Regions from separate parts of the Homo sapiens genome. Here region 1 is linked to region 2. The links are contacts of gene promoters, found by promoter capture Hi-C in human tissues and cell types (Jung and others, 2019). All regions are on one chromosome and are shown on one strand. Each heading gives the region's core, a stretch centred on a gene start or on the middle of the fragment in contact. The rest is flanking DNA. Distances are from core to core; before and after follow the strand shown. Region 1 has its middle 16 kb from the start of ZNF100. Region 2 holds the start of ZNF91 (zinc finger protein 91).

The links. Contacts are between HindIII fragments. The study calls those that stand out against the background at their distance.
Region 1: a fragment that was not itself captured here is called in contact with the fragment with the promoter of ZNF91 in region 2 in 1 of the 25 tissues and cell types used here (aorta).

The regions. Positions count from the first base shown.
Region 1 is chr19:21,780,608-21,785,787 of GRCh38, forward strand. No RefSeq gene overlaps it. Among named protein-coding and RNA genes, the nearest start is that of ZNF100, 16 kb to the left of the region's middle. The HindIII fragment of the contact is 6,966 bases long and covers 1-5,180 here.
Region 2 is chr19:23,393,012-23,398,374 of GRCh38, forward strand. It overlaps ZNF91 (zinc finger protein 91), which reads right to left and starts at 2,460. Exons shown (of 4, transcript NM_003430.4): 1 at 2,314-2,460. The coding sequence starts at 2,343. RefSeq lists an enhancer at 1,862-2,730. The HindIII fragment of the contact is 10,945 bases long and covers 1-5,363 here.

The DNA.
Region 1 (5,180 bases), core at 882-3,381, 1.6 Mb before region 2:
AGTTGAAGGAGCCAGAATAGGAGGCGTGCTGTGGAAGCAGGAGTGACCAGACCTCCAGGCACAGGATACCCAGGACAGAGGGGACAGCAGGGCTGGGAGCTCCATGGGTCAGGCAATAACAGGTGCCAGAAGTTGCCACCATTTCACACCTCAGGCAGGGGCACTGGGGCAAATCTGAAGGCACTCACGGACTGGGTGCTCCAGAAATGGACAAAGCAGTAGCTCCAGCTTGGCATTGCATGGCCATTATCATGACCAAACAATGGGGAGAAAAACTGACTCTCCAACAAATGGTTCAGAAAACTCAATATTTAAATTAAAAAAAAAAAAAAAAAGCTCTCTTTCTCTGAACATTATACAGAAAAAGCCTATGTATGCAAAGCAGGAACTAGAAGTAATATTTGCACACCCATGGTTATAACAGTATTATAAGAGCCCCAATATATATATGACTGATGCTGCCATCTGTGTCCTCACAGTGATGCAATGACAGCATCCTGTGTACACACACAGAGCTAATACCATGAATTCACTCACTGAGCCCATGACTTAATCTGAAACCTAGACAACTGGTACTGAAATTCTCCCCGCTCAGTGAATCCATAGGGAATCACTTGACTTTAATATCTTGTTGGGTTTGGGTTTGCATGCAATAGCTTAAGAAGTCTTTTTTTTTTTTTTTTTTTCTTTTTGCTATTTCATAGGACTTTTTCAGAATGTGGAAAACAAAAACAAATCCAGAAGACTTTCCCACTGTCTGCTACCTTTGCCCCAGACTATCTTAAACTTATATGCTTATATTTTATTAAACAAAACAGGTGCTCTCTACAATCTCTGTGATAATTATGAGGTATTTGAAGCAAGATATAAAGAGTGGTTTCATGTTTTAACTTAATCTTTTTTGAGGTTGGAATGGTTCACTTTAATGAAAGATTTTTTGTTTTAATGTTCTCTGTTGTTTTAAAATGTGAACTTGTGCACACATGTGCAGACTCAATGTTCTTGCTAAAAACATAAACTACATAATTAATATAAACAACATAATACACATAATTAATAAATATATAAACAACATAATAAATAAATACTAATATAAAGATTCTTATAGTCACTAGGCCTTCTTTTTTTCTTTTCTTTTTTTTCTCTTTTTTTTTTTTTTGTTTTTGAGACGGAGTTTCGCTCTGTCGCCCAGGCTGGAGTGCAGTGGTGCGACCTTGGCTCACTGCAATCTCCGCCTCAAGGGTTGAAGCGATTCTCCCGCCTCAACCTCCTGAGTAGCTAGGATTACAGGTGCCTGCCACCATGCATGGCTAATTTTTGTATTTTTAGTAGAGACGGAGTTTCACCATATTGGTCAGGCTGGTCTTGAACTGACCTCAGGCGATCTGCCCGCCTCGGCCTCCCAAAGTACTAAGATTACAGGCGTGAGCCACTGCGCCTGGCCTTTCTTTCTTTCTTTTTTTTTTTTTGAGATGGAGTTTTGCTCTTGTTGCCCAGGCTGGAGTGCAATGGCTTGATCTCGGATCACCGAAACCTCCACCTCCTGGGTTCAAGCAATTCTCCTGCCTCAGCCTCCTGAGTAGCTGGGACTACAGGCGCCCACCACCATGCCTGGCTAATTTTGTGTTTTTAGTATTTTGTATATTAGGGGTTTCTCCGTGTTGGTCAGGCTGGTCTCAAACTCCTGAACTCAGGTGTTCGATACAGGCGTGACCCACCATGCCCAGCCACCAGTCCGTGTTATTGTTAAGTGTCAGTGGGCATCAGTTGCTAAAGTTTGTAATACTTGCTGAGTCAGTTCAAGCCATATTTTGTCATCTAATCTCTCATAAGCTGACCCCTTATTTTTGGCATTATTCCTGTTGATTCCTAGTGTTGACCATTGACCTCCACCTATTCAAACTTACTGTGGCCAGTGGACAGAAAGACATTCAGTGCTCTGGACATAGAGTGTTTCACTAATCTTACCTTCCATAATTCAGTCTATAGAAGATTAGAAATAAGGCTTCCTTCCTTATTCAAGAGAATGCTTTCATGTGCACTCTTGATTTTCTGTCAGTAAGGGCAGATAAGTACACACAGTCTTCAGTCATATATATTAAAAAAAAAAAAAAAAAAAACTAGAGGGCGGGCGCAGTGGCTCACGCCTGTAATCGCAGAACTTTGGGAGGCCGAGGCGGGCGGATCACGAGGTCAGGAGATCGAGACCATCCTGACTAACACAGTGAAACCCCGTCTCTACTAAAAATACAAAAAATTAGCCGGGCGTGGTGGTGGGCACCTGTAGTCCCAGCTACTGAGGAGGCTGAGGCAGGAGAATGCTGTGAACCTGGGAGGTGGAGCTCGTAGTGAGCCGAGATCGCACCACTGCACTCCAGCCTGGGCGACAAAGCGAGACTCCATCTCAAAAAAAAAAAAAAAAAAAAAAAAGGAAAAAATTAAAAAAATAAGGCACCCAAGACCATACAAAAATGGGAATTTTCTAAGTCTATACGAAATACATTTCCTATAATTGCTGAGCTTTTATTTATTTATTTATTTTTGAGACGAAGTCTCGCTCTGTCGCCCAGGCTGAAGTGCAATGGTGCGGTCTCAGCTCATTGCAACCTCCGTCTGCCGGGTTCAAGCGATTCTTCTGCCTCAGCCTCCTCAGTAGCTGGGATTACAGGCATGCACCACTGTGCCAGGCTAATTTTTGTATTTTTAGTAGAGATGGGGTTTCACCATGTTGGCCAGGATGGTCTCGATTTCTTGACCTCGTGATCTGCCTGCCTCGGCCTCCCAAAGTGCTGGGATTACAAGTGTGAGCCACCGCGCCCCATCTACAGTACTTTTTTAGAGTAAAATTTGAAATACATAATTATCTCGAGATTAACGTAGAATTTAATAGATTATCTAATAGTCCTGACTAATTTTAGTAGTTCTAGCTCTATTCTTACTGAATTTTATTACCTTATAGTCCCTAAATAAGCCAACTTTAAGAGAAATATAGTAAACTTCCTAGATTTTGAGAAATGTTTGAGTCATTACCTGATGCAAATAATAGACATAGACATGAACGAGTTACAAAAGAGGAATAATATTTTTGATGTGCATAAAAACTTTTTAAAACTGAATCTTTTAGTACTCTCTCTATGTAGATGAGTCTAGGAAACAGAATAGGAACTAATAAATTGCAATTTTCTGCAGTGGAAGATATCTGCAATCACTAGAAGCAACTGAATCAGAAAAGCTGAAATGGCCTGCGGCAACCTCAGAAAGCAAAAAACAGGCTTGTGTGGACAGAATGCATACTCACTAATAGCAGAATGACAGAGAGATTACTTTTTAATGAATATCTGTGACATTAATTCTTTTGCATCAGAACTTGATTTTCATTCTAAACTTTCCCACTATGCAAACATGTATATACAAACAGGCACACACACATCCTCACATTCTTACACTCATGCAAATTCAACCAGATTTTCTGCAGCCAGGATATCTTTAAGTACACCAGATTAAACTAGATAATTTAGGGATTATCTGAACCCACCAGAGCAATTGCTTGTTTACTTTCTCTGTAAATGTAACATCAGTATTTCCTAGATGTCCCACTGATATCTTAATTACAACTTTCTGATAAACTACTAGTGAGAAAGAATTTGAAACAGACCCTTTTTCTAGACATATTTTATGACTCTAAAATTTATTTCTATTATAGAATATAGAAGACATTAACTTATTTGGCAAAAAAGAATCACAAGTCACAAACTTGCAAAAATTAAATTAATGGTGCAGATAAAGTTGTAAAATTAAATTAATGATGCAGATAAAGTTGTTAAATATCTGAAATTACTAGAATTGAATTCCAGAAACCCCTGACATCTAAGTTAATATATCAAAAAGGTTAAATAATTTAAACAATTTATATTCCTGGATAACACCTTGATTTCTAGTGTCTTTAAATTATTAAAAACATTTCAGCCAAGTATGGTGGCTCACACCTGTAATCCCGGCACTTGGGGGGGCTGAGGTAGGTGCATCACCTGAGGTCGGGAGTTGGAGACCAGCCTGACCAACATGGAGAAACCTTGTTTCTACTAAAAATACAAAAAATTAGCCAGGCTTGGTGATGCATGACTGTAATCCCAGCTACTTGGGAGGCTGAGGCAGGAGAATCACTTGAACCTGGGAGGCGGAGATGGTGGTGAGCTGAGATCACGCCATTGCATTCCAGCCTGGGCAACAAGAGCAAAACTCCGTCTCAAAAAAAAAAAAAAAAGAAAAAAAAGATACCATTTCTTTGTAAGTCTGGCTCTGTTTTCAAAGTGAATATTGTTGTAAATCATTTATATTCTTCTCCTCAAATGCTTTACTTCCCATTTTTGTCTTAGGGAATCTGAGCATATCTTGAAAAAAAGGTCTATGGGAACAATGACCCTACCAGAGGTTTCTTATGGTTTCGCACAGTTTTGTGATTAAGGAAGGGAATGATCTTAGCAAAATGGCAGAAACATTGACAATTCAAAACTGATACTGAAAGGCATATTTCCAGGTGGAAATGCAAGACAGAAGTAGAATGATTGAGAATGTGGAAAACAGCACTTGCATAGAATGCTGTTTTGAGCTTTAAGTGTAAAGAATTCCTGCTTTGAATCATTAAGGGATTTTTACGTTATTCATCTGGTGTAAAACACAACACAGATAAAGAGAGTCAGTAAATGGAAGGTTGTTTTTATTTTACCAAAATCTTATATTATTTTCTAATATTAATTTACTTAGTTCCTGACAACTAAATAACTATTTTGTGCAATGAATGGTATTTAATGTTGATGGGTGCAAAGCTTAAGACAAAGAACAAGGAACAAAAATTTCTGCAGCTTGTTACTATTTACAAAGCACAAAATTCAAATGCATTTTTAAATTTAATACTCAAACAACCTTATAAAATTCTTTTTTTTTTTTTTAGACGGAGTCTCACTCTGTCGCCCAGGCTGGAGTGCAGTGGCGTGATCTCCGCTCACTGCAAGCTCCGCCTCCCTGGTTCACGCTATTCTCCTGTCTCAGCCTCCCCAGTAGCTGGGACTACAGGCGCCCACCACCATGCCCAGCTAATTTTTTTTTTGTATTATTAATAGAGGCAAGGTTTCACCATGTTAGCCAGGATGGTCTCGATCTCCTGACCTCATGATCCACCT
Region 2 (5,363 bases), core at 1,210-3,709:
TCTTACGCCATCTAACTGGGGTCAGTTTTTTGGTTTTTTGGGTTTTTTTTTGTTTTTTGTCTTTTGGAGTGCTGGGTATTTTTTTTCTAGAAATTTTTTTACTATTTTTCTTGCACTATTTTTCTGCCCCCTAAAGGAATCCAGGAGGCAGAAATTATTTGTTTTCTCCTCAATACTAGTATCTGATTGGCTGGCCAGCAATGTGTCTCCAAGAAATGAAAGCTGAATTGGGTGAAGGCAATATTAATGTCTCAAGGAATTAACTTTAAAAAAAAGTGCACCAGGAAATGCCTCTCAGCCTCAGGGCATCCACGTCCACACTTGAGAAGCTAAACTCAATACCTCAGGTTGTCCTATGAGAGAATATGACCCAGAAGCTGATATTCACTAGACACTCTAGCACACATAGCCATGGTGGGTATCTTGGTTTATCCCCATACAGTACTGAAATCTAGGTCCAAGAAAAAACTGAAGGGTGACTGAAGACACATCACCCTATACAGTTTCCAAAAGGAAAACCTGACCCAAAAACATTCTGGTAAGATAGCTGCGTCTAGGGAAAATAGACGAAAAAAACGCACAGAGATATTTTACCATACAGTGTCAGGAGATTATTCTTTGCTTTCTTCTCACAGGGAGTATTTACCAAAAAAAACAAATCTTTTTAAATGTGCCATCAAATGCTTTGTCAAAAAAAAAATTAATTGGCCAGATGCGGTGGCTCACGTCTGTAATCCCAGCTCTTTGGGAGGCCGAAGTGGGCAGACCAGCTGAGGCCAGGAGTTCGAGACCAGCCTGGCCAACATAGTGAAACCCTGTCTGTACTAAAAATACAAAAATTAGCCAGACGTGGTCGTGGGCACCTGTAAGTCCAGCTACTTGGGAGACTGAGAGAGGAGAATCATTTGAGCCCAGTAGGCGGAGGTTGTAGTGAGCCTAGTGCGTCACTGCACTCCAGCCTGGGTGACAGAGCAAGGCTCTGTCTCAAAAATTAAAAATAAAAATGATTAAAATCGGTATCAAAATGTACACTACAGGACAAATAGTTGATAAAGTGAATTAGGGAGGGGAAATTGGCATTTGGGAATGTCAGACGAAACTGGAAATTTAGTATTTTACTGCAAGCCAGAGTTAGGCTGGAGGAACAGGGGATGAGGGGTGGACTTGAGGCCCTGCTTGAGACACATGTAAAAAATTCAGGGAAAAATCGTCCCCTTTTGAGTGTGAGAAAAATTAAGTGGCAGGCAATTAGATTGAGGTGGCTCTAGTCCTCGGATTTCTACTTCTAAAAATAAAAATCTAAACTCAAGAGCATTTTTTGGTAAATTACTACATTGGCAGAAGCAAAATTTAGGCTTAAGCAACTATAAACTGCCAATTAAGCTCTGATTACATAAGAAGGATATTTCCACCTAGATTGTAAAAATTAAGAAACTAGGCCAGGTGCGGTGGTTCACGCCTGTAATTCCAGCACTTTCGGAGGCCAAGGTGGGTGGATCACCTAAGGTCAGGAGTTCCAGACCAGCCTGGCCAACAAGGTGAAACCCCGTCTCTCCGAAAAATAAAAAAATTGGCCTGGTGTGGTGGCAGGCGCCTGTAATCCCAGCTACTAGGGCTGAGGCAGGAGAATCGCTTGAACCCGGAAGGCAGAGGTTGCGGTGAGCCGAGATCACGCCACTGCACTCCAGCCCGCGCGAGAGAGCAAAACTCCTTTTCAAAAAACAAAACAAAACAAAACCTACATAACTGTACCTAGCAAATTACTGAATTTGGTTTTCTTTACCATGAACCTTATAAAAATATCTCCTTCAAGGCCTTTCATAGACCACAAATTACAAACCATAGCTGGGTGCTCTACAATGTTTGAATCACTCTTTGATTAAATTATTTAATCTTTTCGCGGTGACGCCCATAAATTTTTAATAGAAAAAAAGAGGCCCTGGGAACCCCACGGACTAAAGTGCTTCCTATTCATGAGCCAGCACCTCCAGTCAGGATTCTCCCCTGACGACCCTCCCGTGATCCCTGCACAATCTGGGAGAGACGCGGCGCTGCGGGAGCAGAGCTGCCCAGAGAGGGCTCCAGGCCAGGACACAGTCACTGGGCAGGGAAGAGACAGGACGCCCGGAGCCCGCCTGTCAACGCAGCCGCCATCTTATCGCTGAAGGGGACTGAGGCCGAGCTGGGCAAGGAGAACCCGGGCACGGATTGTGGAGCTGACTGAAGGAAGGCCTGAGGCTCGCCACAGCCGCATCCCACCGGTTTCAACGAGCCCCGTTCCCTCTCTCGGGACGTCGCACCTGGCAGTCTCACCATTTCTAGGCTTCCAGGGGTTCCTGGCATCTTAGCTGTGGCTCTCCAATACCTGCAGGTCACAGGGCCACACAGGCTGGGCCTCCTGGAGCAGAGGACACAGAGCAGTGAAGTCGAGACCTGGAAACTCCGGCGGCAGCGAGAGACAAAGGCCCAGCCACATCCCGGAAGCCGCCCTGTCCGCTCCAGCTTTGTGCCTGATTGGACAGTTCCCAGCCCAGCGTCCCTGATTAGATAACGTTTAAGGCCCCGCCTTCTCAGGCCCTGAGTGACAGAAGATGTGATCAGACACTGGGCTGAATGAAGAAAGAGTGACAGCGTAGGCTGCAGCCTTTTCAGGCAGGGCTTCCTCAGCTCAGCCAGGCCCACCTCAGAGCATGGGAAAATCCTCTCTCTTCTTTGCTCTCTTTCAATGTATTCAAAATGTGAACAAAAATATTTGATGTATATTAATAATACATAAAATTTTTGTTCCAGAGAAAATCAACTTTTACTTTATTGTGTATTATCAATAATAAAGCTAATTTGATAAAACATTGTAAGTCTCTCAGCCGGGCGCCGTGGCTCACACCTGTAATCCCAACACTTTGGGAGGCCGAGGCAGGTGGATCTCCTGAGGTCAGGAGTCCGAGACCAGTCTGGCTAACATGGTGAAACCCCATCTCTACTAAAAATACAAAATTATTGAGCATGGTGGTGCGTGCCTGTAATCCCAACTACTCGGGAGGCTGAGGCAGGAGAATTGCTAGAACCCGGGAGGCCAAGGTTGCAGTAAGCCTAGATCGCGCCAATACATTCCAGACTGAACAATAAGAGTGAAATTCCATTTCAAAAAAATGAAAAATAAAATATAAAAATTAGCTGAGCATGGTGGCACACGTCTGTAATCCCAGCTACTCCGGAGGCTGAGGCAGGAGAATCGCCTGAACCCGGGAGGCGGAGGTTGTAGTGAGTTGAGATCATGCCACTGCACCCCAGCAAAAAATAAAAATAAAAATACATTAAAATTTTTTTGACCTCTCTAGATTTTTATACATATTTTATGATCTCTTATAATTTTTTAATTTTTTTTTTTTGAGACTGAGTCTTGCTCTGTGGCCCAGGCTGAAGTCCAGCGGCACGATCTCGGCTCACTGCAACCTCTGCCTTTCAGGTCCAAGGGATTCTCCTCCCTCAGCCTCTGGAGTAGCTGGGATGACAGGTGCACCACCACACCTGACTAATTTTTTGTATTTTTAGTAGAGATGCGGTTTCACCATGTTGGCCAGGCTGGTCTCGAACTCCTGGCCTCAGGTGATCCACCTGCCTTAGCCTCCCAAAGTAGTGGGATTACATGGGTAAGCCATGATGCCGGTCCATTGTTTAACTTTTTATATTTCATTTTAATCTACATTATTTTTACTTTTTCAATTTGAAGGAACCTTTAAGTAATTTCAAAGCAGACAAATGTTTCTAACTTTCTTCATCAAAAGCATATTTTGCTTTTGTTTATACTCTCTCTATTTTCTTTTAATTTCCAAGAGAGAAGCTTGTTCTGTCACCCAGGCTGAAGTGCAGTGGCATGATTTCAGCTCACTGCAACCTCCACCTCCCAGATTCAAGCGATTCTCCAGCCTCAGCTTCTGGAGTAGCTGGGATTACAGGCGTGCGCGATCATGCCCGGTTTATTTCCTTATTTGAAGTAGTGACTGGAATTTGCCATGTTGCTCAGGCTGGTCTCGATCTCCTAAGCTCAAAATGATCTGCCTATCTCGGCCTCCTAAAGTGTTGGGATTACAAGGCGTGAGCCACAACACCTGGCCTTAAACATTCTCTTTGAAGAATTAGTTTTTTTACATCTAGTGGTCTTTTATTAATTACATTAACCCTTAACAAACTAATTTTTAGTGAAATCCCTAGGAAGTAATTTTGAACTGTTTTATATTAATATTTGTAGATAAAAAACATTTATATATTTTAATGTTAAATACAGTGAGTTCTAAATTGCTCTTCAAAGAATCAGTATGTCAGTATATTCAGCTCCCTGTTCTTCATTCTCCATTTTAAAGTTTAACTTCTTTGTTGTTTTTGTCTCCAGTTTTAGTAAACAACCTTCCCGCCAGTTCTAATCAGTAGTTTACATCTGTACCCCTGGTCACCTGCTCCATCCTGAGTCACCCCTGGTCACCTGCTCTGACCTGAGTCACCTTGGTCACCTGTTCCATAACAGTAGTTCCCACCCAAACTGCTCACCCCACCACTCTGGCTTGTACTCCTCCTCTCTTTAAAATAGCCAATGGGAATTAGCTTAGACTGTGCAGTCCAACCCTAGCCAATAGGGGAATGACACAGCAGTAGGGGCTACCTGCATCAGGGCTAAGAACTCCTTTCCCTCCCTTGTTCAGGTGTGCTCTTGCCATTGCTCCATTCGCAAGATGCACCCTTCTATAAAAGTAAATATTGTCTTGCTGAGAAAATTTACATTCAAGTACTATTTCCTTTGCGGCATCAAAAATTTGCTTCTAACATTTAATAAAAGATTTTTTTTTTAATTTTCTGTAAACGAATCTAAATATAGTTAGCTTTTTTATAACATATTAAAGATTCTGGGCTGGGTGCAGTGGCTCACGCCTGTAATCCCAGCACTTTGGGAGACTGAGGTGGGTGGATCATGAGGTCAGGAATTCAAGACCAGCCTGGCAAATATGGTGAAACCCTGTCTCTGCTAAAAAATACAAAAATTAGACAGGCATGGTGGCGTGCTCCTGTAGTCTGAGCTACTCAGGAGGCTGAGGCAGGAGAATCACTTGAACCCAGTAAGCAGAGGTTGCAGTGGGCCGAGATCGCACCACTGCACTCCAGCCTGCTGACAGAGTGAGACTCCGTCTCAAAAAATAAAAAGTAAAATAAAATAAAAAAATTATAGTCAGGCATGTTGGCTCATGCTTATAATCCCAGCACTTTGGGGGAGCAAGTAATGAAGACTGTTTAAGCCCAGGAATTTGAGACCAGCCTGGGCAACATGGCAAAAACACATGTCTAAAAAAAATTTAAAAATTAACTGAGCATGG